Regions from separate parts of the Homo sapiens genome. Here region 1 is linked to region 2. Evidence: promoter capture Hi-C in human tissues and cell types (Jung and others, 2019). All regions are on one chromosome and are shown on one strand. Each heading gives the region's core, a stretch centred on a gene start or on the middle of the fragment in contact. The rest is flanking DNA. Distances are from core to core; before and after follow the strand shown. Region 1 has its middle 92 kb from the start of CCZ1B. Region 2 holds the start of ZDHHC4 (zDHHC palmitoyltransferase 4).

Region 1 (3,224 bases), core at 524-3,023, 340 kb before region 2:
CATTGGCCTCTGAGGCACTTCCTGGTTAACCTCATTCTACAGCTGAGAAAACCCAGGCTTGGCACAGGCAAGGGATCTGACCCAACGTCTCCCATCTTATTAGTGGAAGGACCAAGACTGGACCCACAACTGTGCTCCTGTTTTGAGTCACCATGCTGCCCCCAAGATCAGATCTCAAAACAAGCAGACATGGGGGGCTCAGAAAGTCCCCAGCCTAGAACTTTCCTGTCACCCAATGACACTAAAGGCTAAGCTGGCTGCTTATTATTCTGGATTCACACTAGAATGACCTTGGGGTGTGTTTCACACATGCCGATGTCTGGAGTTTCACCCCCAGCTAACTGACTATGAATCTCTGGGTTGGAGCCTGGGCACTGATATTCATGCAGAGCTTCTGAGATGATCCTATTGCATTGCCAAGGTTGACATCTGCAAAAACATTGCACACTTTTTCATTCATTTAGTTATTAAATATGTAATATTTATTATTATTTTTCCAGACACAGAAGCGCTGCAAGAATAGTACAAAGACATCCTTTATACCCTTCGCTGACATTCCCCAGTGCTACCATTTTACCCCATTTGTTTATTGTTTTCTAAGTGGCAGAGGTGGGTGGATCACCTGAGGTTGGGAGTTTGAGACCAGCCTGACCAACATGGAGAAACCCCATCTCTACTAAAAATACAAAATTACCGGGGCGTGGTGGTGCTTGCCTATAATCCCAGCTGAAGCAGAAGACTTGCTTGTACCCAGGAGGCGGATGTTGCGGTGAGCCGAGATGATGCCATTGGACTCCGGCCTGGGCAACAAGAGTGGAACAATGTCTCAAAAAAAGAAGAACTGTTCTGTCTGCCAGCAAGAGAAACAGAGACTGCCCACAACTGCCAGGCACATTCCCTGGTGGGAAAGCTCTTAACGTCACTGGCAAGTGAGATGGATGCTGGCAGCCCTGGGGGAGCTGCATCTAGGTCTTTACAGGAATAGACGCTGTCTCTGGACTGGGCTTTGTTTGTGTGGTAGAAGATGCAAACTCTCGGAGTGCCATTAAAAACAAGAAAAAAGGCCAGACACGGTGGCTCATGCCTGTAATCCCAGCACTTTGGGAGGCTGAGGTGGGCGGATCACTTGAGGTCAGGAGTTCAAGACCAGCCTGGCCAATATGGTGAAACCCACTCTCTACTAAAAATACAAAAATTAGCCAGGTGTGGTGGCAGGTGGCTGTAGTCCCAGCTACTTGGGAGGCTGAGGCAGGAGAATCAATTGAGCCTGGGAGGTGGAGGTTGCAGTGAGCTGAGATGGCGCCAGTGCACTCCAGCCTGGATGTCAGAGCGAGACTCTTTCTCAAAACAAAACAAAACATAGATTCAAACATAAAATGAGGAGGAATTTTAAGACAGTAAGAGCAGAGCATTAAGCCACGCTCGGGGTCCCTCTCAGCATGGGGCACTGTGTGACTGCACAGGCCAAACACCCATGAATTCATCTCAATTTCCATCCCTCTCACACTCTTCCCCACTGCTGTGGTCTCAGCTGGCACCTTCCTCATTTCTACTCCGGAGGACTGCCTGTACCCTGATTTCTTCAAGGGTGTCTCCAGTCCATCAGACGCAGGCCAACCCAGGGTTTCTCTGCATTGCAATCCAACCAGCATCACCCCCCTGCTTACCAGCCTGCAGTAGCTCTCATGTCCCTTCAGGTTAAAATTCAGACTTCTTAGCAAGGCACTGCTTATTTCTCCAGCCTCTGTGACAGCCTCACACCCTACAATTGAGCTCTGCTGATCCTGGAGAAGTTCCCTCTGAGCCTTTGCACTCCTGTCCCTGCTACTTGACGGTGATTTCCACCTGGTTACCTCCTGGCGTCACCTCCCACCTGGAAGCCTTCCTCATCTCTGGGGTGGGTCAGATGTAGCCGGTTTTGCCCTCTTCCTACACACCCTGCGTTTCCTCTCTCCCAGCGTTCATCTCGTGATATACAATAAGCAATTGACTAATTTGTCCTTAAGACCAGGGCCATACCATGTCTTCCTGGTGACAAATGAGGGAGCAGCGAGCGCTTTTGCCCTCTAATGGCATCTCTGGATCACTAGCTGGAGGTCTTGGAACTCTAAGAGCCAAGCTATTCAAGTGCTACAAATAACACTGCATGGCCCCCGGTCTTTCCTGATTCCTCTCTGCATCTATCAAGAAGGAGCAGCTGTTTTTTGAAGCCCTTCTTTCCTTCTCATGGCTTTGCTCATCCCCACCCTGCTTGGCCTCCAAACTCAGAGCCTTAACTTTCCTATAAATACAGTTTCTCTCCAACTCAACTTGATTCATTCATGCAGGATCCTAGTTCTCTCTCTCTGCCTTTCCAATTCTCCTCTTTCCATTACATTTAAGAGAACCCTGGCTGGGCATGGTGGCTCACACCTGCAATCCCAACACTTTGGGAGGCCAAGGTAGGTGGATCATCTGAGGTCAGGAGTTTGAGACCAACCTGGCCAATATGGCAAAACCCCGTCTCTACTAAAAAACAAAAATTGGCTGGGTGTGGTGGCACATGCCTGTAGTCCCAGCTACTCGGGATGCTGAGGCAGGAGAATCGCTTGAACCTAAGAGGCAGAGGTTGCAATCACACCACTGCACTCCAGCTTGGGTGGCAGAGTGAGACTCTGTCTCAAAAAAAAACCCCAAAGCAACCAAGAAAAGGGCATTCATTTATGGTATAAGAGCGGAAACCAAAAGGAGCTCCTCGATGGAGCTCTGCTGGGACCGTGCATATCAGCCATTCAACCTCTTCAGCACTTGGCGCACATCCAGGAAAGCCCTGCTGGGATTGATTTAGGGGCTATAAATAAACATTATCAAGTACGTGAATTTACAGCTGCAGAATCTGCAGGTAATGAGGATTGATGGTAGATGCACCGATGAACTGGAGGTCAGATTTTAAACTGAACTGTCCAGGACATGGCCAGCAACCAAGAGCTAGAAAAAAGGATTCCTGGAAGGTGGTGAAGAAAATAGAAATCTTAGAGGCTCAGAGACAGACGAAGGTAATCCCTCAGCTGTCACCTGAGCTGTGGCTATAAAATGAGGCAACAGATTAAGAATTGTAAGCATAAGATTGAGGCCAGGCTCAGTAGCTCATGCCTATAATCCCAGCACTTTGGGAGGCCAAGGCAGATGGATCATTTGAGGTTGGGAGTTAGAGAGCAGCCTGGCCAACATGGTGAAACTCCATC
Region 2 (3,537 bases), core at 546-3,045:
AGCCTGGGCAACAGAGCGAGACTCCGTTTCAAAAAAAAAAAAAGAAAAGACACTGGATACTGGAACTCTTTTCCATAGTGTAGCGGTTTAAGAAAAAAAAAGAAGAAAAAAAAGGTACTGGAATTGGCCGGCCGTAGTGGCTCGTGCCTGTACTCCCAGCACTTTGGAAGGCTGAGGTGGGAGGATCACTTGAACCCAGGAGTTCAAGACCAGCCTGGGCAACAAAGCGAGACCCCCATCTCTACAAAAAATACAAAAATTAGCCAAGTGTGGTTGCGCATGCCTGTGGAGGCTGAGGCGGGAGGATTGCTTGAGCACAGGAGTTCAAGCCTGGGCGACAGCATGAGACCCTGTCTCAAAAACAAACCAAAAAAGATACCGGAACTGGTCACTTTTGACCTTAGCAGATAAGATTCTGGGCTGTAATGCCAAGTGAGATAACCAAACAAGAAGCTATTCATGACATGATAGGTGAGAGTAAACAAACAGCAGCAATTCTCACGGGGTGATTCAGGGTACCCAGCCTACATTTCTCTTGGTTGGGTAATTTTCAGCCGGCAGCTCTGGCATTCCTCTTCCCAACATTCACAGATAATTCAAACAGCAGCTCCTCTTGGGCAGCAGTGTGTGCCTGGCATGACCAGTAGCTGCCGGACATGGTTCTTCCAGGAGCCTGGATCTGGCTGCAGAGACAGATCAATTCAACACCCACATAAGACGACAAGAGTTGCAGTCAAAGGCAGAATACCTGTGGAAAAGGATTTGGAAGTAGGGGATTTTCAGCACCCCCAGCATGAATGGGTAAGACTTTGGGAGAAATGGCCCAGACTAAGTTGCTTAGGCCTGCTCCCAAATCTTTGGGAGGCCCAGGCAGGAGGATAGCTTGAGGTTAAGAGTTCGAGACCAGCCTGGGCAACACAGTGAGATCACTGTCCCTACATAAAAATTTAAAAATCAGTGGGGCGTGGTGGCCCGCGCCTGTGGTCCCAGCTACTTGGGAGGCTGAGGTGGAAGGATGGCTTGAGCCCAGGAGGTCGAGGCTGCAGTGAGCTGTGATCGTGCCACTGCCTTCCAGCCTGGGCCATAGAGCTGGACCCCATCTCTAAAAACAATAAAAGAGGCCGGGCGCGGTGGCTCACGCCTATAATCCCAGCACTTTGGGAGGCCGAGGCGGGTAGAACACCTGAGGTCAGGAGTTCGAGACCAGCCTGACCAACATGGTGAAATCCGTCTCTACTAAATACAAAAAAAATTAGCTGGGCGTGATGGCGCATGCCTGTAATCCAAGCTACTGGGGAGGCTGAGGCAGAATTGCTTGAATCCGGGAGGCGGAGGGTGCAGTAAGCCGAGATCGCGCCACTGCACTACAGCCTGGGAAACAAGAGCGAAACCCCGTCTCAAAATACAATAATAATAAAGACTTTGTGAGAAACAGCTAGTTGGGAAGAAATAAGCCAAGTCGGTAGCCTTGGGTCTCTCCCCGCCACTCCCCATTAGGGCCTCCCGAAGCCACCCCCATCCAAGGCACCTCCTGGGCGGGCCTGGTCGGAGATTTCCCTGGGGGCTGGAGCCCTGGTAGGGGGACGTGGAGTGCAGCAGGCTCGGAGGGGACACCGGGGCCGCCCCGGACTCGGGCGAGGTGGGGGTGGGACGGCGGCCCTACACACAAGGGGAAAGGGAGGGTCAGAGGAGGAGACTGACGGTCCTGGGACAGCCCAAGCTTCCCACAGCCCCGCGGAGGCGGCCTTACCGCCAGCCGCTGGGCTCCGGCGCCTCCCGGGCGCGATACGAGACTTCCTGCGGGCTCGTGACATCAGCACGGCGCCCCTGAGGGGCTGACTTCCGGCGGAAGTGTGCGAGGGCCGCCGCGGGTTGCGGGGCTGGAGTAACAGTGACCTCCCCGGCGCCCTCGCAGCCAGCCTGGGGACCTCCGTGGCCGGGTGTAACCGCTGGGAAGTGCGATTTTATTTTATTTTATTTTATTTTATTTTATTTTATTTTATTTTATTTTATTTTATTTTATTTATTTTATTTTATTTATTTTATTTTATTTATTTTATTTTATTTATTTTATTTTATTTATTTTATTTTATTTTATTTTATTTTATTTTATTTTATTTTATTTATTTTATTTTATGTATTACCTATTTTCTTATTTACTTATGTATTCGTTCATTCATTCAGAAACAGCCTCGCTCTGTCGCCCAAGCCGGAGTGCAATGGCGCTATCCTAGCACACTACAACCTCCAACTCCTGGGCTCAAGCAATGCCTCCTGCCTCAGCCTCCCAAGTAGCTGGGACCACAGGTGCATGCCACCACACCCGCCTAATTTTTTTTTTTTTTTTTTTTTTTTTGTAGAGACGGGTGTCTCACTATGTTGCCCAAGCTGATCTCGAACTCCCGGGCTCAAGTGATCCTCCCACCTCGGCCTCCCAGAGTGTTGAGATTACAGGCGTGAGTCCCTGCACTGGGCTGGAAGTGGGATTTTAGAGCAGTATTGCCAGGAGACTTACAGGAGGACCGACCTGGGCCTGGTGGGGGCGATCATTCTGGGGCTGTGACAGGGACTAAGCTGCCCTGCGGCCTGCACAGAGACCAGTCATGTCCCTGCTCAGAGCCCAGCAGGGGGATCCAGGTGGCCCAGGGCAGTCACACTTAGGGGGCTCTCAGACTATGTCTGTGTGGTGGACAGAGTTTGCTTTCAGCCACCCACACTGTTGAGATCTAGCAGAACATTTCCAGCATCTTCCGTTGCAGAAGCGGGCAGAAAGCACAATGTGTACCCATCAGTCAGATTCCGCTCCATGTGTGTCCTTGCTCCTGATGACAAGGACATGTTGCTCTGTACAGCCCTAAATATCCTCGGGGCAGTGACAAATACTTGACCACAAACGTTGAGGATAAAAGGGAAGGGTGTTTGATGCTAGGCAGGCTTGGGGTAACAAGAGCTGCTTCCAAACATAGCCCTGAGAAGGCCCTGTGGGGTGTCCTTTGCTCTGACCATCTCTGAATCAGCTGAGGCCAGGGTCTATTCCTGATGCCTCTGAAGACCTGAGCCAGGCCTGTCCTCCTTTGAGGGGAAATGTCTGATCTCCAAACACTGGCCTTAAAGCTCTTCTCTTTTCCTGTCTCTTTGCTACCTACGTCAGCTTCTTGATGCGTTTTCTTTTCCTTTTTATGAAACTCCTTACCAACAGGATGCCTTCTCCTGTGTACATTGTATCCAAGGTCTTCATAAATTTATGGACCCAGAATTGAAAAACCAAGGCTCATACCTATAATTCCAGCACTTCAGGAGGCCGAGGTGGGAGGATCGCTTGAGCCCAGGAGTTTGGGAACAGTCTGGGCAACATATGGAGACCTTGTCTCTACAAAAAATTTAAAAATTAGCCGGGTGTGCTGGCATGCACATGTGGTCCCAGCTACTTAGGAAGCTGAGGTGGGAGGATTGTTTGAGCCCAGGAGGTCAAGGCTGCAGTGCGTTAGGATCACACCACTGCATTCCAGCCTGGACCACAAAACAAGACCCTGGTTC

What was found. The method cuts DNA at HindIII sites, captures the fragments that hold promoters and counts their contacts. A contact is called where the count stands out against the background at its distance.
Region 1: a contact is called between a fragment that was not itself captured here and the fragment with the promoter of ZDHHC4 in region 2, in 1 of the 25 tissues and cell types used here (mesendoderm cells).

The regions. Positions count from the first base shown.
Region 1 is chr7:6,917,016-6,920,239 of GRCh38, reverse strand. No RefSeq gene overlaps it. Among named protein-coding and RNA genes, the nearest start is that of CCZ1B, 92 kb to the right of the region's middle. The HindIII fragment of the contact is 5,631 bases long and covers 1-3,224 here.
Region 2 is chr7:6,575,712-6,579,248 of GRCh38, reverse strand. It overlaps ZDHHC4 (zDHHC palmitoyltransferase 4), which reads right to left and starts at 1,795. Exons shown (of 8, transcript NM_001134389.2): 1 at 1,751-1,795; 2 at 529-683. RefSeq lists an enhancer at 552-1,167 and a silencer at 1,446-1,775. The HindIII fragment of the contact is 8,419 bases long and covers 1-3,537 here.